Regions from separate parts of the Homo sapiens genome. Here region 1 is linked to region 2. Evidence: promoter capture Hi-C in 16 types of primary human blood cells and fetal thymus (Javierre and others, 2016). All regions are on one chromosome and are shown on one strand. Each heading gives the region's core, a stretch centred on a gene start or on the middle of the fragment in contact. The rest is flanking DNA. Distances are from core to core; before and after follow the strand shown. Region 1 overlaps CDK6 (cyclin dependent kinase 6). Region 2 holds the start of HEPACAM2 (HEPACAM family member 2).

Region 1 (5,040 bases), core at 1,682-4,181, 410 kb after region 2:
CAAGCACCTTCCTCCTCTGCTTAGAACAGCTGATTGTGATCACGTAATGGGTTGTGACATCACTGATAATACTAATATATTATTACATAGCAATAAACTAATTATATATATAACATAATTTATACAATATATATAGTAATGAAAGAATTAAGGAAAAGAAAGGGAAAGAAGGAATGAAGAGAGGGAGTGAGTAATAGAATAGAAAAGAAAAAAAATTGTGGTGTTCCCAGTCAGTTGTCAGATATGTTTCAAGGAAGTTGTTAATAAAGTAGAGTACCAAAGTTTGCAGGTGAGGAGAGTTATTTGCAGTTTTTTGTTTAAAATAATTACATTTTTCTATTAAAGCAATTTTTCTGGTTAATATTGCTTGTAGTAAATTACTCCAACATGTAGGGGCTTAAAACAACCATTATCTTATATTCATGAATTTAGCAGGTGGGGAATTCAGACAGAGCACAGTGAGAATGGCATATCTCTGTTCCAAGATGTCTGGGACATTAGCTGGAAATTACTCAAAAACTGGTAGTTTGATTATTCTAGGCGTCTTCACTTTCAAGCCTGGTGGTTCATGCAAGTTGGTTGGCGAAGGCTGGGATCTGAACTCAGGTTTTTGAGCAGAGCACCTACACTGACCTACACCAGGTGGCCTGGGCTTCCCTTTCAGCATCAAAGCTTCAGAATAGTTGAATGTACATGTTGGCTCATGGCTTTAAAAGTTGGTGTCCCTGAGAACAAGCAGTGTTAATTATGCCACGTTTTGTTGTTTATATTTGAGTTCAAAGCCCCAGAGATTCAAGAGGTAGAGACATACACCACCTCTTAATGGAAGGAATGTTAAAGAATTTCCACCCCCCCACCCCCAGCTTTTTTGTAATCATGACATTAATACTAATACTAAATAGTATGAAAGGGCTTATGATAAAAAGGCAAAGCTCCTGCCCCAGTTCTCAGATACAGCTATTCCTATTCCCAGTACTCAGATACAGCTTCTTTTCACTGTCTGTTTTTGGTGCTTCTGTTTATGGTCTCCATAAATTTAGATAATATGCTGTTGCTCTAGTTCTTGATATTTAAACTTCAGTAATATCTATTGACTTTCTACTCTGAAAAATGAGGACTTACCTTGTTAATATTACTGTGTATTTCCTTCGCTTTCTGTGAGATAGGGATATTTTTATTTCATATAATAATTTTAAATAATATCCCTAAACTTCAATTTTTCATACTTTCACTTTGGGCAGTATCTCTTGATTCTCCATTTAGTAAGAGGAGAATATTTTATCCCCGTAACCTTTCTTCCACTTATGTTCTCCCTTTAACATCACAATTTCTATCAGCTACTTTGCTAAAATTGTTTATTTGCATTCTGTTCCGTACTGCAACAGAGGCTTCCCTGCTTTTCTAAAGGTTGACCCTTGCAAGTTGAACACTGGTAAACAGTGCTTACATTCTTCTGACTATATAGAGAGAGTTCAGTGCTAGGCCAAATATTCAGCCCTTATGTTTCCTTCTCTCCAGGTTCAACATTATAACCCTATGAAGCTGATGGAGTCCTTCTTTTGTAAAAACAGACATCTGGATTCTCTTTCCTTATTCTGCATCACTTGTTTAAAATATGCCCTATTTTCGTGTACTTTTTATTCAGGCCATGACTTTCTTGTATCATTTTGTTTTTCCTGGAGTTTCTAATTGCCTTTTTATTTTTTCTTGCCATGTTTGCCTTTATCACAATCTGTGTTCTCCAGAAATACTATGTGTCTACATATGGTGGGTTTCCCGCCACCATTTAATTTGCTGGGCATTCTGTGGAATCTTTCTAAGTGCAGATTTGCTTCGTTTTATTTTTTTTAATGGCTGCTTCTTCATCATTTGTTCTATTCTCTTTACAAGGTTCTTCTGTTAGTCAGATATTTGATCTTGCAGTTGGGATCTCTGTGTCTCTTCTTTTAATCTTTTTTCTAATTCATCTCTTTTCTCTGGTTTTTGCTTTGTATTCTAAAGAAACTTCTATATTATTTTCCAAATGTCTACTGAATTTACTCTCAGTAATTAATATTTTTAACTTCAAAACATCATTTTTTGTTCTCCACTTGTTGGTTTTTAAAGCATCCTCCTCTGGTTTTCTGTAATATTTCTTTGAATTACTGTGAATTTTTTTAAAGTCCTCCACATTATCTCTGTTTCTGTCAGTGTTTAGTTTTTTTGGTTAACTTTTTTGTTTTTCCTGTGGCTGAATTTTTTAAATGCCTGGTGATCTTTGAATATCCTTTGGCTTTTTTAAAGTCAAAACGAGCTAAAGGTATAATTTTTATACAGTAAAATACACCCATTTTAAGTGTGTGCTTTTTATGAGTTTCGACAAATTTATTCACCTACTAACCACCACCACAATCAATATCTAAAATACTCGCATTATCCCACAGGGCCCTTTGCAGTGAATCTCCTCCCTCTACCAGGACCCCTGCCAACCTAATCTTCTTTCTGTCATTATAGATTTGTCCTTTCTAGAGTTTCATATACACAGTATCAAAGAGTATTATGTTCTATTATATCTGGCTTTCATTGATAGTGTTTTTGAGATTCATTTATGTTGTTGACTGTTTGAGTAGTTCATTTTCCATTATATGGATTTACCACAATTTGTTTATTCATTCACCTGCTGATGATCATTTCTGTTGTTTCCAGTTTAGGGCTGTTATAAATAAGGCTGTTGTGAATATTTGTGTACAGGTCTTTGTATTGATATGACATATGCTTCATTTGTATGGTAAATACCTACAGGTAGATTGCTGACTGGTATGGCAATTGTGTATTTAATTTTTAAGAAATTGTCAAACTTCTCCAAACTGGTTGTTCCATTTCCAGTGCTAGTGTATAAAGGTTCCATTTGATTTGCACCCTCCTGAACACTTGGGACTGTCAATCTTTTTATTTTTAGTCATTCTATAGTGAGTGTGAACTAATAACACATTGTGATTTTAATTTGCATTTACTTGATGACTAATGTTGTTGAATATCTTTTCATTTGGCTATTGACCATTCTGATACCTTCTGTTGGGAAGTTTCTGTTCAAATTGACCGTTTTTTAAAATTGAGTTATCTTATTGTATTGTAAGAGTTCTTGAGCAGTCTTTTGTCAGCTACATGGATTACAAATATTTTCTTCAGGTCTTTGGCTTACCTTTTCATTTCCTTAATGCTTTATGTCAAACAGAATATTTTAATTTAACCTAAGTCCAATTCATCTTTTTTTTTCTTTGATAGCTTATGCTTTTTTGTATCCTATCTAATAAATATTTGTTTACCTCCAGGGCATATAGGATTTTTCCTATGTTTTCTTCTAGAATTTTATAGTTTTTGCTTTTATTTTAGATTTGTGATGCATTCAAGTCAAGTCTTTGTGTTTGGCTTGAGCTAAGAGTTCAGGTTCATTTTTCCTGTATGGATATCCAGCTATTTCCGCACCATTTATTGAAAATACTTTGCTTTCTTCATTTTGAATTACCTTGGCAGCTTTGCTAAACATTAGTTGAGCATATACATTTGGGCCTGTTTTTAGACTCTTTGTTCTTTTGCATTGATCTATATATCTATCCTTTTGCCAATGTCATACTTTGATTACTATAATGTATAGGTCTTAATCAGGTAGTATACATTTTCCAGCTTTGTTCTTGTTTTTCAAAATTGTTGTTGCTCTTCTTTTGTATTTTCATATAAATTTTAGAGTCAGCTTGTTAGTTAACACAAAAATTCTCCTATTGGGATAGCATTTAATCTCTATTAATTAGGGCGAAGGCATAGATATTGACACTGACTTCTGATCACGAACATGGTGTATCTCTTCATTTATTTAGGTCTTTAATTTCTCTCATCAGAGTTTTGTAGCTTTTAGTGTAATGCCCTTGCTTGCATTTTATTAAATTTATCTCTTTGCATTTAATGTTTTTGGATGTTATTGTAAAAGGCATTGTTTTTTCTTTTTAAGTGTTTGTCATTGAGAGCTATAGTCTTTTTTGTATAGTGACCTTGTGTCTTGTGATCTGAAAAACTCCCTTATTAGTCTGGTAGCTTCTTTGTAAATTTTAGTTTTTTTACATACACAGACACATCATCTGAGAATAGACAGTTGTACTTTCCCCCCTATATATATATATGTCTTTTATTTCTTTTCCTTTCTTTTTTTGCCCTGGCTAGAACCTCTAGAAAAATGTCAAATAAAAGTGGTGAGAGCAGATGTTTTTGGCTTGTTCCCAATAATAAGGAGAAAACTATTCAGACTTTTGCCCTAAAGTATGATGTTAGCTGTAAGTTTTCCTAGGTGTCCTTTATCAGATTGATGAAGTTCCCTTATATTCCTAGTTTGCTTAGAGAGTTTTTCATGATTGGGTACTGAATTTTGTCAGTGTTTTTTCTGAAGAATTGAATTGATTATTTTTTTAAAAACTCTGTTATTGTGCTGTGAATTATACTGATTGAATTTTGAAAGTTAAACCAAGCTCACATTCCTGGGATAAACCCTACTTGGTCATGATGTAGCCTTTTTATATATTGCTAAAATTTTGTTAAGAATATTCATGAATGATATTGGCCTATAATTTTTTTTATAATAACTCTGATTTTTGTTCTGAGGTAATGCTGGCTTCATAAAACGAGTTGAGAAGTGTTTCTTCCTCTTCTATTTTCTGAAAGATTTTGTGTAGGATTGGCATTCTTTCTTTCTTAAACATTTAACAGAATTTACTAATGAAGTCATCTGGGCCTAGCATTTATTTTTGAGTAGGTTATTAACTACAAATTATATTTTCTTAATAGATATGAGACCTTATAGGTTAGATCACCTTTTATAATTTTGTATTTTTCAAGGGATTTGTCTATCCTAGGGTTTTTTTGGGGGGGTGGTAGTTTATTGGTATAGATTCTTTAACTCCTTATCTTTTTTAATGTCTGTAGAATATGTAGTGATGTCCACTCTTTTATTCCTGATATTGGTAATTTGCATTTTCCTCTTTTTATCTTGACATACAGATAGAGTTTTGTCAG
Region 2 (4,523 bases), core at 157-2,656:
TATGCTACGTGCCCAACATCCATGAATGAATAAGATTATTCTCTGTATTCGAGAGCTCAGAGGGAAAATAAACATCCAATAAAATAAAGATTAAGGAGATAAGTGCTGCAATAGATGTGTGTACCAGATTTAGAGACAGTGCAGAGAAAGTTGTGGCATTGTTATTATTTTGCAGGGAGGTGGGGGAAGCATGAGGAGCTCTTGCCATTTTTCTGAAGCATGGAGGGATCTGAAAGTGACTGATCTCTGAAGAGGACTTCGTTTTCCCAATAGTCACTTACTTTCTTTGCTTATAGAAGTCCTTCTAGAAGAGTTCAGAGCCCTAATGCAAAGAGTGTTTCCAAACTTGGATTCCAAAGTTACTATCATTCCTTTTTTACTTTAATTATGCTTGAGGTATAGTCTTCCTTCCCCTCTTATCATTGAACTTCTTCAGTGGGCCTTTACTGTTAAAACTGATGCATGCAAGGAATTTTCCTTGATTTGATGATTTGATGCAGATTTGGATATATCCTTAACATTTTATATAACAAGGCTAGAACCAGAGCCTTCTTGCAAATAGGGGTTAACTAATAACTTAGTAAATTAAGCGGACATGCTTAGACTATCTGCTGCCATGACAATGGAGAGACCAGGTTGAAAACCTGTAACCTGGACACTGCAGTAGAGGTAAGATCTTTTCTAGATCATTGGTTCACTTCCTCTATGCATCAGCTGTGAAAATGTGGCCTCAGATACTATCTCCTGGCATGCACTTTTCATTATAATTATGCATGGTCCATGCCTCAGTCCCAGTTGGAAACACACCTGTGATTTGCTTTTAAAAATAAGATGAATTCAAAGATTAAATGAAATCAGTCATTGTAATAGGAAACACTGCATAGAAAAAATACGTTTTAAATATATTCTGGATCTCTCTTTTGATTCATTGGTAGAATTTTTACATGTTAGTGACTTCATGAAGATTTATAACTGTTTAGCAGATACATGAGCTACTTCAATTTTCATATAATTTTTTTTAATTTTAAAATAATAATGGCATAGTTCTGCATGATAGAAAACCAGCTTTTGTTTTTAAGGAAATCTCACAATATTCTTTCATTATGAAAACATGCCATTTTTCAGTAAAGTCACGCAAAAGGATGTTTTCCTTCATGTGATTTTTTAATAACTAAGTATAATTTATGAAATATATAGACAATTACTGGTAGTTGCTAAGAAACTCTTCTGAAAGCCATAAGCCTGTATTCTTGCTAAGCACATAACAGGTGTTCCCACTCCCTGTGTCCTTTGTATACACATTCATTCTGTATTCAAATCACAGAAGCAAGAGGCAAGATAGGGTCTGTTACCTCACTGCTAATTTCCCTAGCAAATAAACCAGCAGCTGCTGGTCCAAGTTACCACTGAGAACAGGGCACTGCATGCATGGGACAGGATGCTTTCATGGAGCCCTTCGGTGACACACTTGGGGTCTTTCAGTGCAAAATATACCTCCTTCTCTTCGGTAAGGCCCTGTGTGAATTGTGTTTTAGCTGTTTGTTAGGTTTTTTTTTTTTAATTGTGGACATAAGGTAAATATTTGCTTTAGGCTGTAGATGCATTCAGATAATTGAAGAGCAGGTCAGAACCTTTTAACAATAACACACTGTTACAGCAAAGAAGCAGGAACATTTAAGAGAAATGAGTTTCAATAAATAGATTGTTATTGTTTTCTTGGAACAACAATTATTGTCATAGCACTCATTAAGATAATTCAGATATTTTTAAAAGATAATGAATTTCTTCTTTTAGAGTTTACATATAGGTTCAATAGTCTTTAATGCATTTATTTCAGCAAATATTCTAATAGGCCATGAAATTGTGACCACTTAGAGTGAAACTACAAATAATTTACGAAAATTGTTTTCTTTTTAATTAAAGATATTGTTGCAAACTGTTTACTGCTTCGTTTTAAGTTATCTGTCTCATCTTATGAAATATGGAAGAAAGGTAAGATTCCAAACTAACAAAAAAATTTCCTACACAAAAGGGAGAACGTATTTGAAAAGATTGTTACTCCAAAATGCCTTTAGCTTTTCTCTTTGCCCAATGGCTAGTCCTATTAAGAATTTTTTTCTACCTTAATATTTTCCCTCATTCTCCTCTTTATCTTTTGAGTTTAAAGGAGTCTCTTTCCAGCATTCCAACTGCTGTCTGTCAACATTATTTTCACCAGATGTTCTCATTTCCATTCTTCCTATTTATCAGTTTTAAAAGTCAAATCAATTTCTTGTTTTGTTTATATTCAACAGATAGGAGTTCAATTAAGGCTACATTTTTTAAAAATTAAGAACAGCTTAGCAAAATAAGCAATTTAACTTTTAGGCTTCTTCAGCTATTTAGAGCTTTACTTTCACTCCTATATTTTGTTAAAGTTTGCATTGTAAATGTTATTATTCAAATTCATACCTACTGTTGTACCTATCTCACACATTTGAAATGTACAGTTTGTAAATTTTTTTAAGTCTTTGAGTTTCCCAGAGTTGTGATTGTTCCAGTTATCACAGTATTTATGTTATCAAATTTAAGCCTATAATAGATTTTTGTTTTCTAAAATTTTTTGAAAAAGTAAATAATTATTATAACTGTCACTACCTTTGTGCATTTGTCTTCCTTTTGAAAGTATCCTGGGTCATCATCCCACTTATTTTTATATTTAAAACAGTAGGACTACTATCATTTTATAAGTGTTGTTTTTGAAACTGGCGTTAAGAAGAACTTAGAGACAATTTAGTTAAGGAATTCAACTAAAATAAAACAAATGTACATTAGGAAAATAGCATGTTCATAAATAGCTAAAGCAGTTTTTATACCTTAAGACCTTCTCTCTTCTGCAAATTTGCTTTTCTCCATAGGCAGTGTGTTGTAAAGACCACAGATGACTTGGCAATCTTTGCTTTTAGGAATATTGAAGTTTTGTTTGCTTCTTCTTTTTAAAAAATTTTTAAAAATTTGAAGCCTAAAATGTACAGTTTGTACAGTTTATTCAAAACACATCATAATTTCTATTTTCTCTAAAGATGCAAGATTTTATTTTCAGTCAACAATACTTGTGTTATGCTTGTTAATACCACACATGATAACAGGGAAGTAAATGCCAGCTATTTTGAGCTACAGCAGAGGTCACTTTGTGAAATCTGATGTTTATATTCAATACAATGAAACCGGTCTAGGGAGTCCTTTGTTGCTGGAATATAGATAAATTCTACAGTAGGACTTCAAGTGTACCTTAACACTGGATACTTTTTTATAGTGCTATTGTCATACAATGTAAGAGGGTCTGTAAAGGAGGGATCATTGCTGCAATTTTGTATGTCAGATTATGATTAGTATTATAAATGTTTCTCCAGATTTGTGTAATGCCTTATATGCAAAAAGTCAAGATTTTTTTAACAGAACTATAATTTATAAGAGTTTTTGTTTGTTATACTCAGAAAGTAATAGTGAATATAATAATAAAATCGAATTTAAATTTCCGTTTAAGTCCAAATATTTGGACTACTAAAAATAAATTTAAATTTCATCAATTTTTATATTATTTATTATTTTTGTTTTTGTATTTTTTCAAATAGAGACAGAGGTCTCGCTGTGTTGCCCAAGCTGGTCTTAAACTCCTGGGCTCAAGCAATCTGCCACCTCAGTCCCCTAAAGTGCCTGGGATTACAGGCATTAGCCACCACAACCAACCTTTTTATATTATTTATTTTCTTGAAGTTTATCTGTTCATGCAGAGGATGATTTTCTAAAATCAATAGGTTTAGTCCTTTGGGTTTTCTCATACAACTAGAAAAGAGCACTTGAAAATTTCTCAAAATGAAGCTAAGTTTTCTCACATTAGTAAACTACTGTGTTTGACAGCATGAATTCATCACATCTGTAGTGGGTGACACATCAATGATAAGAGAGTATGTGTTCCTAGAATGTGGAGGAAGCATTCAATTATCTGTTTATTCCCAAATTTCACTACAAGCAAAGATTGTATCATATTGATAGGTTCATGTCCAATGAAGAGATTTTACGTGGCTGAGATAAGATACTGTATAAAGAAAATTTCATTCCCTGCTGACATTCTTATAACTTGCTACCTATAATTTATCTGATAAAAAATTGTATAGGCAATCTCTAAGCAAATAGTTACTGTAACAGCTGTGCTATTTCTCACTGTCACACAAACATTTGAAAAAGCATACATATTTGAAAAAAACTTTTCATTTAATAAGAAAGCACTGAACCTATTCAGAGATATTGATGGCAATATATTATTTAAGGTATTATTACATGATGCAGTCTAAAATAGACCCCAAAACTAATTTTCCCCTAAATAATGATCACAAACGCTATATTAAATATCTTTTTCTACTAATGTAGTGTTATTTTTTCTCAGAGCTTCAATATTTGTATTGTATTTAATATTTCATTAAATAAAATTTTCCTCCTATAATTTTAGTCATGGACTCTCTAACCAGTCTTTTCATATTTAA

The links. The method cuts DNA at HindIII sites, captures the fragments that hold promoters and counts their contacts. A CHiCAGO score of 5 or more calls a contact.
Region 1: a contact is called between a fragment that was not itself captured here and the fragment with the promoter of HEPACAM2 in region 2, in 1 of 17 cell types (neutrophils). The highest score is 5.8, in neutrophils.

Annotation. Positions count from the first base shown.
Region 1 is chr7:92,816,796-92,821,835 of GRCh38, reverse strand. All of the region lies in intron 2 of CDK6 (cyclin dependent kinase 6), which reads left to right. Among named protein-coding and RNA genes, the nearest start is that of CDK6-AS1, 17 kb to the left of the region's middle. The HindIII fragment of the contact is 4,514 bases long and covers 675-5,040 here.
Region 2 is chr7:93,223,352-93,227,874 of GRCh38, reverse strand. It overlaps HEPACAM2 (HEPACAM family member 2), which reads left to right and starts at 1,406. Exons shown (of 10, transcript NM_001039372.4): 1 at 1,406-1,507. The coding sequence starts at 1,429. The HindIII fragment of the contact is 7,149 bases long and covers 1-4,523 here.